2 separate regions of the Homo sapiens genome follow, and region 1 is linked to region 2. The links are contacts of gene promoters, found by promoter capture Hi-C in blood cells and fetal thymus (Javierre and others, 2016). All regions are on one chromosome and are shown on one strand. Each heading gives the region's core, a stretch centred on a gene start or on the middle of the fragment in contact. The rest is flanking DNA. Distances are from core to core; before and after follow the strand shown. Region 1 has its middle 15 kb from the start of MAPRE2. Region 2 holds the start of INO80C (INO80 complex subunit C).

Region 1 (4,708 bases), core at 1,466-3,965, 470 kb after region 2:
GGGACAGATCCTATCTGCCTTCAATGATGCAATGAAATCATGAATGAGAAATAATGGCTTGCAGTATAAAGAGCATGCACAGTGAACATTATTTTGTTTGCTCCTCCCTCTTTCGGGAAATTATTTCTTCAATCCTTGTGGTTGTAGCAGAGCTTGCCAAATATAATTATTCCATCCTCCAGACCCTGAGGATTGATGCAGAGATAGGCCTATGACCCAAATCAGGTCATTTAGAATAGTTCTCTAGGTTTTTCTAAAATTAGAGCTGTAATGTGTATGTGTTTGGGGGGTTGGGGGATGTTATCTTCCTTATAAAAGTTAGTACTGGGGAATTAAGAAAATATAGTATACATTATATATTTACTATATTTTGCATAGAAGAATAGCAAAATTCAGAGTTCATGGTTTTGATGCATATGCTTTGGATTTGAATCCAAGTGCTTACAAGTTGTGTAACCTTGGCCAAATTACTTAACTCCTCTAGCTTCAGCTTCTTCACCCATAAAACAGGTATAATAAGATTTGTAAGGTAACATTTTGAGATATAAACCTAGGTTCCTGCCTTGCCCCTGTGGCCATAATTTTTTCTTACCCTTCCATTCTAGAGGTTGGATTTATTTCTCCTCCCTTTGAATCATGGTGGCAGCTTTGATCAATAGATTTTGGTAGAAATGATGCCGACCAGTTCTTGACCTAGACCTTACAATGACAGGCAGCTTTTGCCTTTGTCTCTTAAAGGTCAGCTGCCCTGTGAGAAGTTCAGCTACCCTGGGACTACCATGCTGCTCTGTAAGAAGGCAGGTCTGCTGCCCTGTGAGAAGTCTAGCTACTCTGGGGGAAGTACCAACCATGTAGAGAGGCCCAGAGGGTGGGACACATGGAGAGGGAGGGGAAGAGAGGAGAGACCACAAAGAGTACCAAGGCTCCAAATATGTGACTGAGGAAGCATCCTGCATCTTCACCCACCACAGCTGACACTATATGGATATATGGATTAGAAAGGACCCACCTAACCAAGACCTTCCTGAACTCCTGGTCCACAAAACCATAATGTAGGACAAATGGTTATTTTAAGTTAATAAGTTTTGTGGTAGGCTGTTATGCATTAACAGATAACAGAAAAACCCTGTTGGTTCTCTATTGTGACTCTAAACTTGGTGGATTAAAATAGCAATAATCATTTTATTATTATCTCTTGTCATTCTGGAGGTTGACTGGGCTTGGCTAGGTGGTTGTCACCCATGGTCTCTCATGTAGCTATGGTTGGAAGGTGACTGACTGCTGAAGTCTTCATAAAGGCTTCCTCAGTCTCATGACTGGTGGCTGACGTTGCCTTTTAATTGGGGCCTCAGCTGGGGCTCTGGTTGGAACACCTATGCAAGGCTTCCCCATGTGGCCTGGGCTCCTCACAGCATGGTGGCTGGGTTCCTAGCACAAGCATCCCTAATGAGCAGGCAGAAGGGCATGGCAGTTTTAAAACCTAGTCTTGGAAGTCACAGAGCATCACTTCCATTGTATTTTGCTGGTCAGGGCTGCCACAAAGTTCCACCCAGATTCAAGAGGAAGGGCTATCAACACCACTGGTAACATAACTAGGAGGAATGTCAATCTCACACTGCAAGAAAACCTGTGGGATGGGAGAGATTGTAGTAACCCACTTTGGAAAACCTGCCACACACACCTGCTGAACCTTCTTTACTCGCTGAGTTTTCAGCATGGGGCAGGAATGCAAGAGAGGAAGAAAAGAATGAATGTTCAACTTCGGAGTTTCAAAATCAACTTGTAAGCCCATGGCAGAGAAAAAACCCTGAAGAAATGTTTATGAGCCTCAGAGTCTCATTTTCAAGTATCAAAAGCTTAAGATCTTTCAAAGATTCAGAAACTAAAGTTCGTACTATAAGCCACAAGACTACATGACTGGTTAGAGATGTTGGGTTAGGAGCTGGTGAGTGTCCTTGAAGAGGGACTCTGCCTGCTCTCCTATCCCCAGCCATGCCCATGGGAATTTGAGAGTAGAGGGAACCTGTCCTCTGCTTTATATCTGGAAACTGAGGGATGCCAAAGCCACACAGAAGGTCCCTAGTCACCTTGGCACAGGAACAGCGGGGTACAGATGCAGGTAAACTGTTTAGGGCAACAGCAGTTTTTCCACAGAGCTAGCAAATATTTTTGGGGAGGGAGAAAGAACAAACCTGACCCCATGTGGTAGTGACAAACATCAACAGAAAAGAACAGGCCTCTGCAGACTGCGCCTGTTTTCATGGGGAGGGTTGCCATGGAAGCAACTAAAAAAAAAAAGTCAAATCTCCATTCAGGTTTCCAAAAGCACCTTGTAAAAATGTGAGACTGTGGTGTGGTGTCCATATTCATCGCTGCATTCTCTCACTTGCTGAATAAGCAGGTCAGAGGCATGCACAGAAATTAGGTTGCGGCCATTGGTTTAGACAATACACAGTACATTTAATGAGGAAGCTTCTCTCCTACTTGGCTCCCTCTCCAGATCTCCTGCTTGAGCTAAACTGATAGCCAGCACTTAGCTTTGAATCCTCAGAATGTTTTTCCCTCTCTACCCATCTGTCTGATTCAGACATCATACCTGTTCATTTCACAGGGGGACAGGTATGTCCTGCCCATTCCTCTCCCGCTGCTCACACCCTGCTTCAGACACGCTCCTTCCTCTCACCTACCTCATGAGTCTCTCTAGAGAGGTTTCCTTGCTTCACAATCAATTCACATCTCACCACCAGCTCTATCTTCCCTCCTTTCATTTTTAGAAGTCTTCAGGGGTTCCCTATCATTTCAAGACAAAAATTCTAAGTTTTTCTTTTGGCACTGTAAAACCTAACTACCTTTAGAAACTTATGCCCCACCGTGTATAGAAAGAGTAAGATTGAATTTGGTTTCGGCCTAACCTGGAATGTTAGTTTTGCCACCTGGTATCAGCATAAGCAAAGCTTCCTCTGTACTTGGTAAACAAAGAGAAGAACCTGTAAACATTCCTATTTGGAATCCTTCATAAATGCTCTTGGAAGAATCTATTACTACATCTGATTATTCCACTGGACTATGTTCAGTGGAACTGCTAGACTTCTAAGCTACTGTTTGAAAATAACTTCAGCTTGCTTTATTAAAAAACTACAGAGAGGACGGCAATTTAGTGAAATGAATTCTGATGATGTAAATGTTAACAGTATCCGAGTTGTTACCTCTGAGTCCCTGTCCTCCTAGGGTGAAGAGCACATAGAGTTGGGAACATTCAGCCACGACTGTCTCATCTTTATAACTGCTTTAATTACAATCGAGTACATCATTAAAGTCAGAATCACAATGTTTTAAGCTCATTAAAATATCAGCTAAAAAATTCATAGGGGATTATTGGCTGGAAGAAATGAAAAGTTATAGCATTGCTATTTCCTATTGATGGTTAGAACATGCAAAGATCCACAGAGGGTAAGTTTTGAGGCTGGATGACAAGCTCCAAAAAAAGTTTCTTTGGCCAGTCACTTACATTTGGACACAACAGGCTGAACAGCAGCTTCACATTCTGCACGCAAAACACTCAACTCTGGGTAAAGTAAATCATTCCACAAGTGGCCTCCTTCCACATTCACAGTACTTGAGAAGAGTTCCTGAAACTTGGACACAGTGCTGTGGAGCAGAGCCAAGAAACTTCACAGTGGTTATGAAACAGCTGCAAATCCATGCTTATGTCATGCTTTGTACAAATACTCTATAAAGGACACATTTGATCAAGAGTAGAAATATGGCTTTGCTAGTACTAATCAAGGTGAGAAGCTGGATTTCACTAAAAAGACTTCAGAATAACCCTCTAGTGTTTCCCAATTATATAATTCTAAAATTTATAGTTAACCTGTATTTTTTTATATTTTTCTCACTCACCCTCCAAGCAAATTCATCATTGTATTAATAGCTACTCACAACATGGAGAAAGAAAACAAGCAGCAACGAATTAAAGAATCAGTCCCCTCAGAGGTTAGCACTAGTTTATCTGACAAAAGAGAATGTCCTATAGCAATGAGAGATGTTGCCATCCTTAACATTGTCTATGATATAAAGGACAATACTAAATTTACTGAAAAGGTCTATTTCTAAATTCCCCTTGAATATCAGCCAGGCAAATGTAAGAACCAAATTTTTGCATGATTATAATTCTCTCCAAAATGGGAAATGAAGGTTAAATTAACTTTCAGATCCTGATCTGCAGATACTCGTAGTAAATTTTATTCATCTTCAGATTCTCTTCTTCATTTACTGAATAAAAGCAAGTTATATCGTTATCAATAGAACTGAAATAGGTTCATTTGCATAAAATGCTTTGTTCTACTTCATTCTGAAGAAAACAGCATTTATAGTCAAAAGGCTTTCAGCAACTATTGCAAAAGATACTTCATGAGTCAAGGATGCTGTCAGAGCATGAATAAAAGGGAGAGGGACACAGAGTTCATCATTTACAGAGGGGTTGGAGAAAATCTCTATTCCTCCTAGTTTCAAGTTAGGAGTTTAAAAACCTTTAGGAACGAGGACAAAGACCTGAAAGTTGCTAAAAATCCCAGCTCATGGTACCAGAACAAGATAGCTCCAGAACTCTGAGTGCTTCTAATGCAATAACACTTGGGCACTTTCCCCCTGCTACAAACCAAATCATTGAAAGGTGTCTGATAGAGCCAGCATACACTGTTAGCCTGAA
Region 2 (4,477 bases), core at 66-2,565:
CTAAAGGAAAAAATATGTCAGTAACAATATTGCAAGTTTCCCTAACTGCTCCTTCTCTCTCACCTCTAAGTCATTGTGCAGCCTGTTTATTTCAAATATCAAGACTCATATACATCAACTTCCTGTATTCAAACATAGTAGCTTCCACCAATCACTGCAGGGAGTTAGTTCATTCGTTAAATACATCATTAAAAATACTTATAATGCACCAATGACTTGCAAGGTACTGTGATTGGGGGGACTGATAAGTTAACAAGACATAACTGACCCTTCCCTCATACAGATTACATTCTAGCAGGAGCCAAAAAAGACATTAACCATCCGATTATAAATCATTTAGTTATATGATGTCGCAAAGGTTCTGTAAAAATATAGGGTAGAATGAGGCAAAGAACAAGGCGGGTAGGGGGACTCAGGTTCCTAAATAGGTTTTAGTAGATCTGTGACCTCCCTGAAATCTGTAAAATTTTGTCTGTGTCTGTATACATTTAATGGGGTGGTGGGGAGGTGGGGGTGTGCGGCAGGGATAGGAAGCACAGATTCCATGCTCAAGAGTCTGTGAATCCTAAGAGATTAAGAACCGGCCGGGCGTGGTGGCTTACGCCTGTAATCCCAGCACTTAGGGAGGCCGAGGCGGGCAGATCACCTGAGGTCGGGAGCTCGAGACCAGCCTGACCAACATGGAGAAACCCCGTCTCTACTAAAAATACAAAATTAGCCGGGCATGGTGGCACATGCCTGTGATCCCAGCTACTCGGGAGGCTGAGGCAGGAGAATCGCTTGAACCCGGGAGGCGGAGTTTGCAGTGAGCCGAGATCGCGCCATTGCACTCCAGCCTGGACAACAAGAGCGAAACTCCGTCTCAAATAAAAGAAAAAAAAAAAGGGAGAGATTAAGAACCACTCTACCCTTCATGTCCATTTGGGCGCTATTTATATACAAACCTTTTCCGCGTGGGAAGGCAGGGAGGGATAGAGGGAGAAGCCAGTAGCTTGGCGGTCTACTGAGAACGACCCCAGCTTTAGGCTTACAGACATCAAAAGTAATCACTCTTCTATATGAGAAAAGACAACACGCTCATTAATTTTTTAAAACGTAGTTACTTAAAAAGATTGGGAGATTTTCTATTCCTCTATCAATGGGGATTTCCAGGCACGTGCCCCACCCAAGGCCCACGCCCAGAGCGCCCGAGTGGCAGGACAACGCCCGCTGACATCTTCCCGTCCCGACGGCACAGGCTACTCCGAGCTCCGCCTTTTAGATTGCACCGAGAGAAGCCAGCTACAGCTTGGAGTCCAGGCCGGGTTTTCAAGCATCAAGACGGAAGTAACAGCGGAAAGGAAGTTCCAAGGCCCGCGCTGGGAAAAAGGTGGGGGGACCAGGGGAAGACTCGGAGTGCGATGGCGGCGCAAATTCCAATTGTGGCCACCACTTCCACTCCCGGAATAGTCCGGAACAGCAAGAAGAGGCCGGCCAGCCCTTCCCACAATGGCAGCAGCGGCGGGGGCTATGGCGCCAGTAAGAAGAAAAAAGCGTCCGCTTCCAGCTTTGCGCAGGTACGCAGTCGCGCTCCCAGGCTGCGCGTGCGCGTCGCGAAACGGGACTTGGCGGGGCGGAGCCGAGCCAGGGCGCGTGCGTAATGTGGGGCGCTGCGCGTGCGGTCTCCGTTGGGGTTGAAAGACGCTGCCCCGCGGAGTGAATGACTACTCTTTCCCTTCGTTTGGACACATGGGCTTACAACGCCTTGTGTTGTAAGGAGAGAAGAAGAAGTAGGGAGGTTATTACTGACTTAGTATTAATAGAAGGACTGCCTCTTCCCCTCGAGGTCGCCTTTAGCATGAGGTTCAGGACTAATGAGTGTCAGTCATTCAGAAATTTGCGTGTCTTCCCCTCGTCCATTCTGCAGACATCTACCCAGTGTCTTTGAGGCGCATAGCGCTGTAATGTCCTGCATGGATGAATACAAGATGTATTGATAAGTATGCTTTCTCTCATCCTGAGAAAAGTGCTTTTTTGACCCTGGGTTTCCCAATCCAAAGGCAGGTTTGGTCTTAACTCATGGGCTTGTTAAGGTTATGAAGTAATGAGTGTAAAGGCACTGAGCTCAGCGCCTGGCTCAGACGTCAGGGCCTCTGAACAATCTAGGTTCCGTAATTCCAGCAATGAATTTTCAGCAGGGAGTGGCTTGATTAGTGTTTTCTCTGGCTCCTGCATTTTATTCAAAGCAAAAAAGCAGAGATAGAGTGTGTTACTTTGTGCTCCTCAGCATATGGTGTGACACCACCGTTCACCCAGTCAGTCAGTGGCTGTTCTAGAAATCTTGTTCCTTCTTCTGTAGGTGATTGGTAGTGCTTTTTATTTTAACCTTTTAATATTAAATACTTTGCTATAGTAAGATTTACACAGAGTACAATGCACAAATTTTCAAGAATACTGGCTGAACCACAGATCTTCAAGAATCCTGTCTCACGCCTGTATCCCAGCACTTTGAGAGGCCAAGGTGAGAGGATTGCTTGAGGACAGGAGTTCGAGACCTGCTCCCCAACCCCCATCCAAATTTACAAATAGCTGGGCGTGATGGTGCACGCCTTTAGTCCCAACTACAAGAGCATCACTTAAGCCCAAGATTTCAAGGTTACAGCGAGCTATGATCGTGCCATTGCAGTCCAGCTTGGGCAACAGAGTGAGCCTATCGCAAACAAAACAAAACAAAACAAAACTACAGATCCAGTGCCCTTTTACATTTGTATACACCTATGGCCACTGCCTGGATCAAGATAGCATTTCTAAGAGCAGGTGACATTTTCCTGTCAGTACTGTCTTTCCTTCCTAACAGTTACCCACTGTTCAGCCACCCTTCACAATAGACTGACTTTGGGTTGGAACATAATATAAATGGAATAATACAGGACAATAGGGAACATATTCTTTTGCATCTGTCTAGGTTCCTTTTTGAGACAATGTTTTTGAGAGTCGTTTAGTACATCTGTTGCATTGTATAAACATACACCCGATGAATATTTGAACGTTTACAGTTTTTGGCTTTGTGCAGAAGCTGCTCTGAACATTCTTGTACAAGTCTTTGTGTAGATAGATGCTTTCATTTCTCTTGAGAAGTAGTGGAATTGCTGAGTCAGAAGGTAGGCATACATTTAACTCAGTAACTGTTAAACAGTATTTCTCAAAGTAGTTGCACTGTTTTTGCATTCTTACCGGCAAAGTATGAGAGTGCCAGTTGCTCGAAATCCTCAACAATACAGAGTATTGTCAGTCTTTCATTGTCAGTCTTTAACTTTTAGCCATTTTGTTGAGTGTGTAGTAGTATCTCCTTGTTTTAATTTGTTTCTCTGATGGCTAATGATATCAATCACTTTTCATGAGCTTGTTGGACATTCCAGATCTTTTGTGGAGTGCCTAATTATTTTTTTCTAATTGGCTTTTAAAAAAAAATTATATTGATGTGTAGAAGTTCATTACATTATCTTTCTTGATTAGACTCCTTTGCCAGATGTATGTATTGTGAGTAATTGCTCCCAGCCTGCGACTGGTGCGTTTTGATAACCAGTTGTGCCAGGACCAAGGAGTGTCACTAGGACATATGGGTAGGAATAATTGTTTTGACCCCAAAGGGATTGTTGATCAACTTCCACTACCACAAGCTTCTGAAAGTGGTCAAATGCCTTCAGGAGACTGGAAATTCCCAGTAATCCAATATGGTGGAAATCTTAACTCTCTATTCCCTCTGGGCCTTTTTTGTATCCAAGCAGCAGCCTCAGGAGAAGCTGGAAAGGGCAGAGCATTTCATGAAATAGTGCCTTCTTTTGTCCTGACTCTCCTTTTCCCAACTGATATTTACTAAAGAAGACAGGGTCTTCTTCTGTCACCCAGGCTGGAGGACAGTGGCACAATCATGGCTCACTGCAGCCTCGACCTCCTGGCTCAGTGGATCCTCCCACCTCAGCCTCCCAAGTAGCTGGGACGACAGGTGCATGCCACCATTGTATTTTTGGTAGAGGTGGAATTTCACCACATAACCCAAGCTCGTCTCAAACTCCTGGGGTCAAGCAATCTGCCCACATTGGCCTCCCAAAGTTTAGGGATTACAGGCATGAGCCACTGTGCCCGGTTGTCTTAGATTTTTGCCTTGCTGTGATCCTTTCATTCTAGTTCCCTTTTCACAGCGTATAGGAAATAAGCAGGCATAAGCACAGTACCCCTGAGGGCTGCCAGGAATCTTCTTGAGGTCACCCTCATCTGTGTCACTTGCCCAACCTTTCTGTTCTGTTTCAGTTCAGTTCATGTAGCAGTAATTTATTGTACTGTTTCTGTTCCATCCCCAGCAGTATGCTTAAGACATTTCAAAGGATTATAGCTTGTCCCCACACTACCAAAAACATCCCAGGAGAGAATGACGTATATACATTGTGTTTAGTTTTCTACTGCTGTCATTACAAATTATCACAAATTTAGTGGCTTA

Evidence for each region. The method cuts DNA at HindIII sites, captures the fragments that hold promoters and counts their contacts. A CHiCAGO score of 5 or more calls a contact.
Region 1: a contact is called between a fragment that was not itself captured here and the fragment with the promoter of INO80C in region 2, in 1 of 17 cell types (fetal thymus). The highest score is 5.6, in fetal thymus.

Annotation. Positions count from the first base shown.
Region 1 is chr18:35,024,099-35,028,806 of GRCh38, reverse strand. It overlaps a transcript of MAPRE2 not described here. Among named protein-coding and RNA genes, the nearest start is that of MAPRE2, 15 kb to the left of the region's middle. The HindIII fragment of the contact is 482 bases long and covers 2,475-2,956 here.
Region 2 is chr18:35,494,798-35,499,274 of GRCh38, reverse strand. It overlaps INO80C (INO80 complex subunit C), which reads left to right and starts at 1,315. Exons shown (of 5, transcript NM_194281.4): 1 at 1,315-1,556. The coding sequence starts at 1,401. RefSeq lists enhancers at 1,138-1,407, 1,758-1,877, 2,148-2,297. The HindIII fragment of the contact is 4,638 bases long and covers 1-3,661 here.